Linked DNA regions of Homo sapiens: region 1 is linked to region 2. Evidence: promoter capture Hi-C in human tissues and cell types (Jung and others, 2019). All regions are on one chromosome and are shown on one strand. The core of a region is centred on a gene start or on the middle of the fragment in contact, and the rest is flanking DNA. Distances in the headings are between cores, read along the strand shown. Region 1 overlaps ZNF559-ZNF177 (ZNF559-ZNF177 readthrough). Region 2 holds the start of OR1M1 (olfactory receptor family 1 subfamily M member 1).

Evidence for each region. The method cuts DNA at HindIII sites, captures the fragments that hold promoters and counts their contacts. A contact is called where the count stands out against the background at its distance.
Region 1: a fragment that was not itself captured here is called in contact with the fragment with the promoter of OR1M1 in region 2 in 2 of the 25 tissues and cell types used here (H1 embryonic stem cells and neural progenitor cells).

What each region holds. Positions count from the first base shown.
Region 1 is chr19:9,379,427-9,385,914 of GRCh38, reverse strand. ZNF559-ZNF177 (ZNF559-ZNF177 readthrough) reads right to left here. Exons shown (of 13, transcript NM_001384659.1): 11 at 6,296-6,388; 12 at 5,776-5,858; 13 at 3,298-5,247. The coding sequence ends at 4,138. ZNF177 (zinc finger protein 177) reads right to left here. Exons shown (of 8, transcript NM_001172651.2): 6 at 6,296-6,388; 7 at 5,776-5,858; 8 at 3,298-5,247. The coding sequence ends at 4,138. LOC112268250 (a long non-coding RNA gene) reads left to right here. Exons shown (of 3, transcript XR_002958434.2): 3 at 440-1,175. Among named protein-coding and RNA genes, the nearest start is that of ZNF177, 20 kb to the right of the region's middle. The HindIII fragment of the contact is 6,564 bases long and covers 1,957-6,488 here.
Region 2 is chr19:9,085,638-9,091,938 of GRCh38, reverse strand. OR1M1 (olfactory receptor family 1 subfamily M member 1) reads right to left here and starts at 4,878. Exons shown (of 2, transcript NM_001004456.2): 1 at 4,782-4,878. The HindIII fragment of the contact is 13,481 bases long and covers 1-6,301 here.

The DNA.
Region 1 (6,488 bases), core at 3,989-6,488, 290 kb before region 2:
TTGGGATGTAAAAATTAGTTTTGGTTCACTTCGGGTTTCAAACATCTTGAGTAAGATCTTTCCTATGACTATTTCAGACCACTCCCTCTAACAGGACTGTGGAATCTAAGCACTACAATAGGGATATCCATTTTTTCCTGGTTAGTGCCCAGCACCAGCTGTTGCTACACACTCAGCAAATCATTATAGGGATACGCAGCACTGGTAAAGAGAGTCTATTTTATATTATAGTGTCACACTAGCCTTGTGACCATTAATGCCCCCTGGTCTCTCCATATTCCAGTAAAGTTCCTCTGCCTGTGGCAGGCCTGGCTCTCCGCCAATCTGCTCCTAGACCAGGAAAATGCCTTCAGGGAAGAAACCAGCCACTGATTTCTGCTCTTCTAGGAGGAGCTCATCCTCTGGCATTTAATTCTTTCACTCCTTTTTTTGTCCACAGATTTCCAGGGTCTTTGAAGATGTTAGTTCACTGTTTATTCATGTGGGTTCCTGTAAATGTCTGCAGCCAATCTGGAAGTGGAGCTGTATTTGGAACTTTTTGAATCTAAATCAGTTTGGGAGAAGTGAGTCTTTTCAGAATTTGACCTTTCAATGAATGTCTCAAATTTGTTTACGTCATCTTTAATGTTTTCAATACTGTCTTCAAAACAATTTGGTAAGTTTAAAATTTATTCTTCCACAATTTTGGTAAGTTTAAAATTTATTCTTCCATATGTTATACCATTGTTGCTCTTATAAATGGTATTGACTTTTAAATTTTATTATTTCTATTCCTGAGTATAAGTTGCAAGTTTATCTTTATTAAGATAGTAAACATTTTCATTAATTTAAATATAGATCCTTTGAAATTTTCCATTTAGGTAATCATATTATAAATAATGACAGATTTACTTCTACCTTTCTGGTCCTTAGGTTTTTAAATATCTTTTCCTAGCCTGCCTCACTTAAGATTCCAGTAAAATACTAAGTAGTGGATACCATTGTCATCTTCCTGATTTTAAACTCATTTTCTATTTTCCACCATTCATTTATTGTTTACTTTTGCATTTTTTTATACAATGTTTATCATATTTTCAAAGATTTTTCTCAGTAATACCTCTTTATGGCTTTTTCTTTATCTACTGAGATTATCCTATTTTTTCAATAATGCATTAAATGCTTTGAACACTGCCTCATTCATTCTAGGTGCCTAGTAATTATTAGTATGAGTGAATGAGTAATAAGCCTATTTTAAAAGTGAATTGTATTTATTGATTTTTCTAATGTAAAACCAACTTTGCATTTCTGGATAAATTTAAATGCGATATGATGGTTTCTTTTTAAAAAATACCCAGTTCCGGCCAGGCATGGTGGCTCACACCTGTAATCCCAGCACTCTGGGAGGCTGAGGTGGGCAGATCACGAGGTCAAGAGATCCAGACCATCCTGGACAACATGGTGAAACCCCATCTCTAACTAGCTGGGTGTGGTGGCCCTTGCCTGTAGTCCCAGCTACTCCGGAGGCTGAGGCAGGAGAATCACTTGAACCCAGGAGGCGAAGGTTTGCAATGAGCTGAGATTGCGCCACTGCACTCCAGCCTGGCAACAGAGCGAGACTGCATCTCAAAAAAAAAAACGAAAAAAAAAAAAAACCCAGTTTCCTTCTATTTCATAAATTATTTTTGAAGGTTTTCAGGCTTCATTCTGTCCTTGTCTGAGTTTGTTATCCTGCCCTCATATACTGCCAGAATGTTTTTGTTTTTTGTTTTTTTGAAATGGAGTTTCGCTCTTGTTGCCCAGGCTGGAGTGCAACGGTCCAATCTCGGCTCACTGCAACCTCTGCCTCCCGGGTTCAAGCGATTCTCCTGCCTCAGCCTCCCAAGTAGGTGGGGTTACAGGCATGTACCACCATGCCCAGCTAATTTTGTATTTTTGGTAGAGATGGGGTTTCTCCATGTTGGCCAGGCTGGTCTCGAACTCCCAACCTCAGGTGATCCGCCCGCCTTGGCCTCCCAAAGTGCTGGAATTACAGGCGTGAGCCACCGCGTCTGGCCGAGAACGTGTTATTTTTCTAAATTCTCCAAGTGTTGTCATATTGCGTCAATATGGTGCCTCCAGAAACCAAAAAAACCGACCAAGCATTGTGCTGTTTGTGATTAGTAGTACAAATTGCAGCAATTCTCCTTTCACCTTAGAGGGAATATCTTGACAAGCGCCAGACAACTGAACCCCTAGAAACTTCAGGTGGTTAGCCTGAATGTTTGGGTGTATTCCCCAACAAACATTCACGTCTGTCTTACGAAAGAACTCATAAAGGCATCAATAGAGAGGACAAGTTGTGGGATGTAAAGATGACCATACCTGCTGGATGTTATTGCAAGCAACAGTATAACTGATGTAACGCTGAGAAAAAGTAAGTTGCTCCTGGTTGTCCTTACAGGTTGAGAAAATGGTATTTCTAGGTCAGTAGCTCACATTTGTAGTAAATTAATGAACATTAGTTATTAGGGGAAAAGTATGGGCACTAATAGCACAATTTGCCAGAAACATAAAATGAGTAAACTTAAATGTACCCAATTACAGTGCCCCCCAAAAAAGGAGAGTTTTTTTTTTTTTTTTTTCCCTGAGACACGGTCTTGCTGTGGCCCGGGCAGGAATGCAGTGGCATGACCTCGGCTCACTGCTACCTCTGCCTCCTGGGCTCAGGTGATCCTCTCACCTCAGCCTACTGAGTAGCTGGGACTTACAGGTACACAATACCATACCTGGCTAACTTTTTTTTGTTTTGTTTTTTGTAGAGATGGAGTTTCGGCTCATTGGCTGGGCTTGGTCTTGAACTGGTAAGCTCAAGTGATCTGCCCGCCTTGGGCTCCCAGACATGCACCACTGCACCTGGCCTAGAGAGAGAGATTTTTAAAGAAAACAATTTGGCTGGGGGCGGTGACTCACACTTGTAATCCTAGCACTCTGGGAGGCCAACACAGGCAGATCACTTGAGATCAGGAGTTCAAAACCAGCCTGGCCAACATGGCGAAACCCCACCTCTACTAAAAATACAAAAAAGTAGCTAGGCGTGGTGGCATTTGCCTGTAATCCCAGCTACTTGGGAGGATGAGACACGAGAATCACTTGAACTCAGAAGGCGGAGGTTGCACTGAGCTGAGATCACACCACTGCACTCCAGCCTGGGCAACACAGCAAGACCTAATTATTCCTTTTTTGGTAGAGATGGGGTCTCACTGTGTTGCCTCAGCTGATTTCAAGCTCCTAGACTTAAGTGATCCTTCTGCCTCAGAAAACACAATTTTTCAACCATACTTGAACGATTCCTAAAACTTGACCATTTATTAGATGTAACAGTTGGGACTGAAATCAGCTGAAAGAGGAACTTCCCACAAGAGTGGTTTAAACCACATGGCAGTTAATTTTTCTCATGTAACATGAAATCCAGAGATAAGCAGCACAGGATTAGTGCAACCAGATAATATTGTATCTCCCCTGTTGTTTCATTTAGTATCCTTTCTCTGTCCTCCTCTTGGTGTATATATTTTCTAGGAAATAAGGGACAAGACAAAGGGCAAATAGTTAAGAAAAAAACACCAGATGAGATATTCCCATTTCCATGAGCTTCCTTAGCAGCTGTATCCAGTGACTTCTGCCTACTTTGCATGGGCTAGGGATGTGAACATATTTGGCCGCTCACAGCTGTAAGGGAAGCTGGGTGAAAACTGTCCACATTGCCAGCTTGAACTAAATGGTAAATTTTATTACTTTAAGAAAGAAGGGAGGAATGGATATTGAGACAGCAACTAGTTCTGTCTGCCACAGTACATCAGTCAGTGTCCAGCAATTATGTTCAAATCTATGTCACACAGAATCTACATATTGAAGACCATGTGTTCTGTTCACAATGCAATTAAACTGAAAAGATAACTAAAATATTCATAGGATCTACAGTTGTGACACATATAAGAATGAAATACTCACTGATAAAAACAATCATAGCTATAACATTTATAAGGTTTGTCCCAGTATAACAGGCATCCAGAGTTGGGCCAGAAGGCTGTTTCCAGGTGACCATAACAGGGCTTCTCTCCAATATATGTTCTAAAGTGAGAAAGGAGGCATGAGGGGCAACAAACACTTCCCTGAGTCATTTCATTCATGGAGTTTCTGGCCATTGTGGATTCGCTTGTGCATTATAAGGTTAGTGCTTGTGCTAAAGGCTTTTTCACACTGAATACATTTATAAGGCTTCTCTCCAGTGTGAGTTCTCACGTGTACCCTCAGGCAAGAGGAATTCCTAAAGGCCTTCCCACATTCTTTACACTCATAGGTTTTCTCACCAGTGTGAGTTCTCTTGTGCACAATAAGGTAAGAGCCTGTGCTGAAGGACTTTCCACACTGGTTACACTCATAAGGCTTCTCTCCAGTGTGAGAGCGTGTGTGTTTCTTAAGGGATGACTGATCGATGAAGGCTTTTCCACAGTCACTGCATTCATAGGGTTTCTCTCCAGTGTGGGTTCTCACATGTTTCTGAAGGGATGAAGGAACAGTGAAAGCCTTCCCACATTCCTTACAGTCATAGGGTTTCTCTCCAGTGTGAGTTCTTTTGTGCACATTCAGATGAGAGCTCTGGCTAAAGGATTTTCCACAGTGATCACACTCATAAGGCTTCTCTCCAGTATGAGATCTCATGTGTTTCTTAAGGGAAGACTGAAAAATGAAGGCTTTCCCACAGTCACTGCATTCATAGGGCATCTCTCCAGAGTGAGTTCTGACACAGTTCTGAAGGGACAAAGGGTCAGTGAAAGTTTTCTCATGTTCATTACATTCCAAACCCTCCTCCACACTACCAGTTTTTGTGTGGACACTAAGGGGAGATATTTTGCCATAGTCACTGCATTCATCACCTTTCTCTCCAGTAGGTATTTGCTCACGTACTGAGCAGGAAGAGTGTAGGCTGAAGGACATATCACATTGCTCATACTCCTGAAACTTCTGTCCTGTGGGAGTTCTTAAGTGTTTCCTGAGGGATGACTCTTGATTGAAAGCTTTTCTACAATCAGTAAATTCAAGAGTTTTCTCTCCAATGTGAATGCTCACATGACTCCTAAGAGTTGAGGGATGGTTGAAGACTTTGCTATACTTTATATATTTATAGCATTTCTCTCCCTTGCAATATCTTGTACAAATAAAGCGAGTGTTCTTTCTGAATTTCCCACAATGGTTACACTCCAGGGAGTGCTCACCAGGTTGATTTTCTGCCTGTTGAAAAGGGAGTAAGTGGTGACTAGAGGCTTTTTCACTTTCACCTTATTCACAGGAATTCTCTTCCATGAGGATTCTGCCATATATAGGAAGCACATGATCATGACTGACATGTGTACCATTTTCAGTAGGTGCGTATGACTTTTGCCCTATTAGCTTTTTCGAGTTGAATAAGCTCACTCCTCTGTCCAAGGCTCTATTCCTTCCCAGCAAAGGGCTTCTTTAATACAGTTTTTCTAATACTGAGTGAAGAATGAATGAATTATGTACTAAATACTTAACTCTAAAATCATATTTACATAGATGTTTACTTGTGGTTATTCTCTGTGAGCCAGCAAGTGTTAACCTAGGTTTACAGATTTCTCCAATTTCATGAAAATCAAACTCCAAACTCTCCCGAGACAGCTTTCTGGTGAAAGCCTGGTGCCTGAATTCTTACCCCTGCTTTGGGTGCTGATGTTTTAACTCATTCAGATTCCCAGACTTCTACTACAAAGACCAGGAATACTTCCTAGTAAGTCTTACCGTGTTTATGCCATTGGATGTTTTTCCCCCAGGAATGTTCTGCATAGCAATTGTATCTTTTGGTTTAAGTTGAGTTTCCCAGTCTGAAATAGCACAGGAATTTTTATAATTATTGGGAGAAAAGGTTGGGATCAAAGAAAAAGGGAGGGAGACCCTATGGATTTGTTTTCAAATAATATCTTCTAAGTAGAGAAATGTAAGAAAGAAGACACAACCAGTGATTCACCAGTGATAGGAACAAGCAGTAGAAATGGGAGGTATTTTAGTTAGAAAGGATTGTGGAGGTTGGGAAATAAGACAGTATTATCTGGCAAAAAGCATTCATGGAGACATTACATTTAAAGAGGAATTAAAACTTCTTTCTCGGAGACCAAATGAACGTATGAACGATTGAATAGATGGTGAAACAGGAAGGAAGCTCATGTCATGGCCTCAGATTTCTTTTCCTTCACTGAGTGACATTCCCAAATGTACTAACCCTCACTGGCCAAGGCTGCACCCTGTTCTGCCCAAGGCTCACCTGCACAGTCACCTTGTAAAATTCCTCTTTCATCTGTCTTCAGCTGTTCTTGATCCACCTTGGAGATCAGACTGTGTCTGCAGAGCTGATACCCTGCTCACGCAGAAAGCAAGGATGTGGGAGAAATGTGTGAGAATTAAATATTCCACAAAACTGATTGCCATACTTTGGCTTTAACTAAAGGATTATTAAA
Region 2 (6,301 bases), core at 3,629-6,128:
ACTACATCTCAATAACAACAACAATAATAATAGGGTTATACAAAGCATTCTTTCCCTCTTTTCTTTCTTCCTGACATGGCAAACTCAACATATAAAAAAATAAAGTCTATTTTCTCCCGGAGCCACTATGTCCATGAATGGAATCACCATCCTTCCAGATACCTGTGTTTGAAATTTTCAGTCTTCCTCCTTTCTACCTCCACCGTCAAAGGCAATCCATCAATGAGTGTTACATCCTCTACAAGTCGAACTTCCTTCCTTTGTTTTTTTTTTTCCTTTTGAGACGGGGTCTTGCTCTGTTGCCTAGGCTGGAGTGCAGTGGCACGATCTTGGCTCACTGTAATCTCTGCTTCCCAGGCTCAAGCAATTCTCCTGCCTCACCCTCCCAAGTAGCTGGGATTACAGGAGCACGCCACCATGCCCAGCTCACTTTTGTATTTTTAGTAGAAATGGGGTTTAACCCAGCTGAGTATCTGGACACTAAAATAAAATAGCAACGTGCTCCTTAGTTCACATCCAACAGCTTTATTCTTAGCATGTGTGGCAATTCTTGATTAATTGGAATTAAAATAAACAATAGCACCTGTGGTGCAAATACTATTTAAAAAAAAAAAAAGAAATGGGGTTTAACCTTGTTGGCCAGGCTGGTCTCGAACGCCTGACATCAGGTGATCCGCCCACACTTGGCCTCCCAAAGTGCCGGGATTATGGGTGTAAACCATTGCTCCCAGCCTGAACTTTCCATTTTTTATTTTATCTATTTGTTTTTTTTGAGACAGAGTCTCGCTCTGTCACTCGGGCTGGAGTGCGGTGGCACGATCTCGGCTCACTGCAAGCTCCGCCTCCCAGGTTCACGCCATTCTCCTGCCTCAGACTCCCGAGTAGCTGGGACTACAGGCGCCCACCACCACGCCTGGCTAATTTTTTGTACTTTTTAGTAGAGACGGGGTTTCACCATGTTAGCCAGGATGGTCTTGATCTCCTGACCTCGTGATCTGCCCGCCTTGGCCTCTCAAAGTGCTGGGATTACAGGCATGAGCCACCGCGCCCGTCCTGAACTTTTTATTTTTATAGTCATTTCCAGTCATCTCCTCTTTCCAGACACCCTAAATGAAAGGCTCTTATTACTTCTGAGTTGCCAAGTTCACTAATCTTAAGCTAGCCTCATGCATCCAATTATCTTCCTTTGAAACAATCCTGAAGTCGGCCGGGCGCGGTGGCTCATGCCTGTCATCCTAGCACTTTGGGAGGCCGAGGCAGGCGGATCACCTGAGGTCGGGAGTTCAAGTCTAGCCTGACCAACATGGAGAAAACCCGTCTCTACTAAAAATACAAAATTAGCCGGGCATGGTGGCGCATGCCTGTAAACCCAGCTACTCAGGAGGCTGAGGCAGAGGTTGCAGTGAGCCCCGATTGCGCCACTGCACTCCTGCCTGGGCAGCAAGAGCGAAACTCCATCTCAAAAAAAAGAAACAATCCTGAAGTCACTAAATTAATCTTCCTGCATTACAGTTCTGATCATGTTACTTTTATATTTTTATTTTTTATTTTTGTGATTTCTAATGAACACCTTGCAGATGTCACTTTTATTCACTCACGCATTCGTTCATTCATTTTGTAAAAAATTATTGGTAATTGCAATATATAGTGACAGGATCTGGCCTGAGTTGTGGGGACAAATATATGAAAATACACAGACCCTGTCCTCAAGACATTTGAAATCAGGAATTGTTTGTCTTTGTTCATTTTTGTGACCAGCATCTTGTCTGGGATACAGAAGACATAAACATAATTGTTCCATATACGCATGAATCAGTGATGGTTATCCTGTATTGCCAGGCACTGATCGAAGGTCTCTGCTAATTTGCTACTCACGACAACAGAATAATGTTAGTGCTATTTCATGCAGGAAGAAATGGAAGCACAGAAGATTAATACAATCAAATGGGGTTTAACTGAGAGCAGGTGGCTGGATTAGCCCAAGCATTCTAAATCTAGAGCATGTACTCTTAATCTCTGTAATTCATGAAGCACGCATGGATTCATGAATTCACAGTTTAGTGAGGGAGATGAACTCCAGGCAGCATTTATCAGATTATGAGGAGCTTGGATTAATAGAGAATCACACCCCACACACAGCACCCCTGAGGATTGTAAGAGCACTCCGAAAACTGTTGAGGCAGCCAGGGATTTTTGGAAAATGTGTTGGCTTTAGGCAGGGCACAGTGGCTCACACCTGTAATCCCAGCACTTTGGGAGGCTGAGACAGGCGGATTGCCTGAGGTCAGGAGTTCGAGACCAGCCTGGCCGACATGGTGAAACCCCGTCTCTACTAAAAATACAAAAAATTATCCGGGCGTAGTGGTGGGCCCCTGTAATCCTGGCTACTTGGGAGGCTGAGGCAGGAGAATCGCTTGAACCCAGGAGGCGGAGGTTGCAGTGAGCTGAGATTGTGCCATTGCACTCCAGCCGGGGTGACAAGAGCGAAACTCTGTCTCAAAAAAAAAAAAAAAAAAATGTGGTAGAAATACACAATGGAAAACTATTCAGCCATAAAAATGAAGGAGATCTTGTCATTTACAGCAACATGGAAAGAATTGGAGCATATTATAAATGAAATAAGCCAGGAACAGAAAGTTAAACACTGCATGTTCTCACTCACATGTGAAAGCTAAAAGAAAAAAAATGATTTCATAGAAGTAAAAAGAACAGAGGATACTAGAGTCTGGGAAGGGTAGAGGGAGGGGGCAGATAGGAAGAGATTTGTTACAGCATACAGAACTACAGGCAAATTGGAAGAATAAGTTCTAGTGTTCTATATCCCTGTAGGATGAATACAGTTAACAATAATATGCTATATAGCTAAACAGCTAGAAGGAGGATATTGAGTGTTCCCAACACAGAGAAATGATAAATGTTTGTGATAATAGATGTGCTAATTACCCAGATCTGATCACTATACATTACATATATGGAAACATTACTATGTACCTCATAAATATATACAATTAAAACATTTTAAAAGGAGTCAGAGTATTTTTTTTTTTTTTGAGACAGAGTTTCGCTCTTGTTGCTCAGGCAGGAGTGCAATGGTGCAATCTCAGCTCACTGCAACCTCTGCCTCCCGGATATAAATGGTTCTCTGGCCTCAGCCTCCCGAGTAGCTGGGATTACAGGCACCCACCACCACACCTGGCTAATTTTTTTGTATGTTTACTAGAGATGGGGTTTCACCATGCTGGCCAGGCTGGTCTTGAACTCCTGACCACAGGTGATCCGCCCGCCTCGGCCTTCCAAAGTGCTGGGATTACAGGTGTGAGCCACCGTGCCTGGCCGAGTCAGAGTATTTTTCCATCTCAAGGAAGCCAGTGAATGCTCTGTGATTAAACTACTAATGGAATCAAGGAACTGATCTCAGACATCCTCCTGCCCTGACACCTAAGCTTTCACTGAATTACTCTGTCACTCCTCATTCTTCCACAGCTCTTGGGAAAAATTTAAGTATCAGGAACCCGAAGATTCATCCCTTAAGCTTCTTGATGAGCCTCTCTCCAAGGAAGCACCAGTCCTATCCTATCTGGACCTCTGCACTCTGTGTCTAAGATCTCTCAGCCTGGAATACTTGGGAATCTCCAAGGGCTTCCAAGACCCAACATGGGGAATAACACAAACTTCTGCCTACAGAAGTACTGAGGAGGAAGCCATCTGTTCCTTCAGGCACTCAAGTGGGCTTGGAAAAGAAAGTCCAGGCTGGGCGCAGTGGCTCATGCTTGTAATACCAGAACTTTGGGAGGCTGAGGCGGGTGGATCACCTGAGGTCAAGAGTTGGAGACCAGCGTGGCCATTATGGTGAAACCCCAGCTCCACTAAAAATACAAAAATTAGCTGGGTGTGGTGGCGGGCATCTGTAATTCCAGCTACTTGGGAGGCTGAGGCAGGAGAATCTCTTGAACCTGAGAGATGGAGGTTGCAGTGAGCCAAGATCATGCCACTGCACTGCAGCCTGGGTGACAGAGTAAGACTCCATTTCAAAAAAAAAGTCTAGTTACGAAGAAAAACAGTGCTACAAATAATCATGGTTTTTAGGTAAAGGACTGGTAGCATCACAACTAAACCAGGCTGAGCTAGTTTGGTAAGAAGAGCCATTGGATTCTGGGCTGACAAGTGGGTGCTGATTGACCAGACAGAATCTTCCAGTGTCGGCCGAGCACAGTGAATTCCAGTACTTTCGGAGGCTGAGGCGGGTGATCACCTGAGGTCAGGTGTTCGAGATCAGCCTGACCAACATGGTGAAACCTTGTCTCTACTAAAAATACAAAATTCACAAGGCATGGTGGTGTATGCCTGTAATCCCAGCTACTCGGGAGGCTGAGGTAGGAGAATTGCTCGAACCTGGGAGTCAGAGGTTGCAGTGAGCCAAGATCGTGCCATTGCACTCCAGCCTGGGCAACAAGAGCAAAACTCCATCTCGGTGGGGGAAAAATGTTCAAAAAATCAGCTGGGTGTGGTGGCACATGCCTGTAGTTCCAGCTACTCTAGAGGCTGAGGCAGGAGGATTGCTTAAGCCCAGGAGGTAGAAGCTGCAGTGAGCTGTGATTGTGCCACTGCACTCCAGCCTGAATAACAGAGCAAGGTTCTGTCTCTAAAATAAATAAATCAGTAAATCAATAAATAATAAAAAAGAATCTTCCAGTGTATCTGAGATCATTGAGCTTGGCTTCATTAATTTTACCAACATTCGTTCAGTCTCTCTCTCTCTCTCTCTCTCTCAGCTCACTCACTGGGCTATCTTTCCTCTTCTTGACACCATCACCCAGGCATGAGTTAAACTGGCTCAGTGTCCTCCCAGCAGGTACTAGATGATGAAGTTAGATGTTTGGGCCAGCAGATGCTACATAGAAATACTGGGAAGTTGTCCTCCTGGTCCAAAGAAGAAAAGCTAGGGTGGGGGATAAGTTGTAGGAACCGAGGGAATATTTACAATTTCTGGGCCAATAAGAAGTCAATTCCCCAAGCTCCTTGTTACACAAATTGTCCAATTTCATCTCTAGTCCCTGAATAGTTCTGTTTCCTATGGGGGCTGGGACGTGGCAGTAAGAAGCATTTTATGTCTTCATGAGGCAACTTAGGGGTAAGTTGCATGATTCCTAACTTTCTCTGCACCCTCTCTTCCAGGAACAAACTCTCCCTGTCTTCTAAACTCAGTCTTTCCAATGCCCAGGGCTTCTTATATCAGAAGGTTCCATTCTTATTGGAAGCCAATGTTCCTCATCACTTAAAGAATTAAGAAATGGCCGGGTGTGATGGCTCACGCCTGTAATCCCAGCACTTTGGGAGGCTGAGGCGGGTGGATCATGAGGTCAAGAGATTGAGACAATCCTGGCCAACATGGTGAAACACTGTCTCTACTAAAAATACAAAAATTAGTTGGCATGGTGGTGCACACCTGTAGTCCCAGCTACTCAGGAGGCTGAGGCAGAAGAATCGCTTGAACCCAGGAGGCAGAGGTTGTGGTGAGCCGAGATTGCACCATTGTACTCCAGCCTGGGCAACAAGAGCGAAACTCCATCTCAAAAAAAAAAAAAAAAAAAAAAAGAAAAGAACTAAGAAACACTCCAAACATTTTCCCACGTCCACCCAGTGATCTGTCACCAAGACCCAGGGCTGCCTGCTTTCATCACTCAACCTCAACAGAACAACTCTCTATAAAGGGATCATGGCTTTCATTCAGTTCTGCAAAAGGAGAAACTAGAGCCTACCCTAATGGATGTACATGGAGAGAGTGGTTGGCTGACTAAGTCTGCAGCCAGATTCTCACTGAGTATTGGGACCATGGTGGCATTACTGGGAATTTTCAGGAATTTGGTTTTATAAGGTCATGCCCAGATTATTGGGTTGTGTCTACTCAGTAAACACTCATGAAACTGATGGATACATGAAGGCTCAGTTTTTCAAAGCCTTTAGCTATGTAAAGAGCAAAATACTAGGTTGAGCCATATGCAATTGTCAATATTCTACCATTTTTGATCAACAAAACTGGCATTTTTTTTTTTGGTATGCCTCAGCTTCATATAATGAAATCCTGTGTGCCCAATCACTCAGCTTCCACACCTACCAAGTCAAGCCTCTGTTGAATCTGTGTCCTACCTACTTTGACCTCTCTCTTCCCAGAGATAATTTCAGAGCAAATTCCATATGTATAATGATTTTGGTATGTCTTCAAAAAACAAAAAGCTCTTTTTGAAAGCATAACCACAATACCATTATTATTATTATTATTTTGAGATGGAGTCTCGCTCTG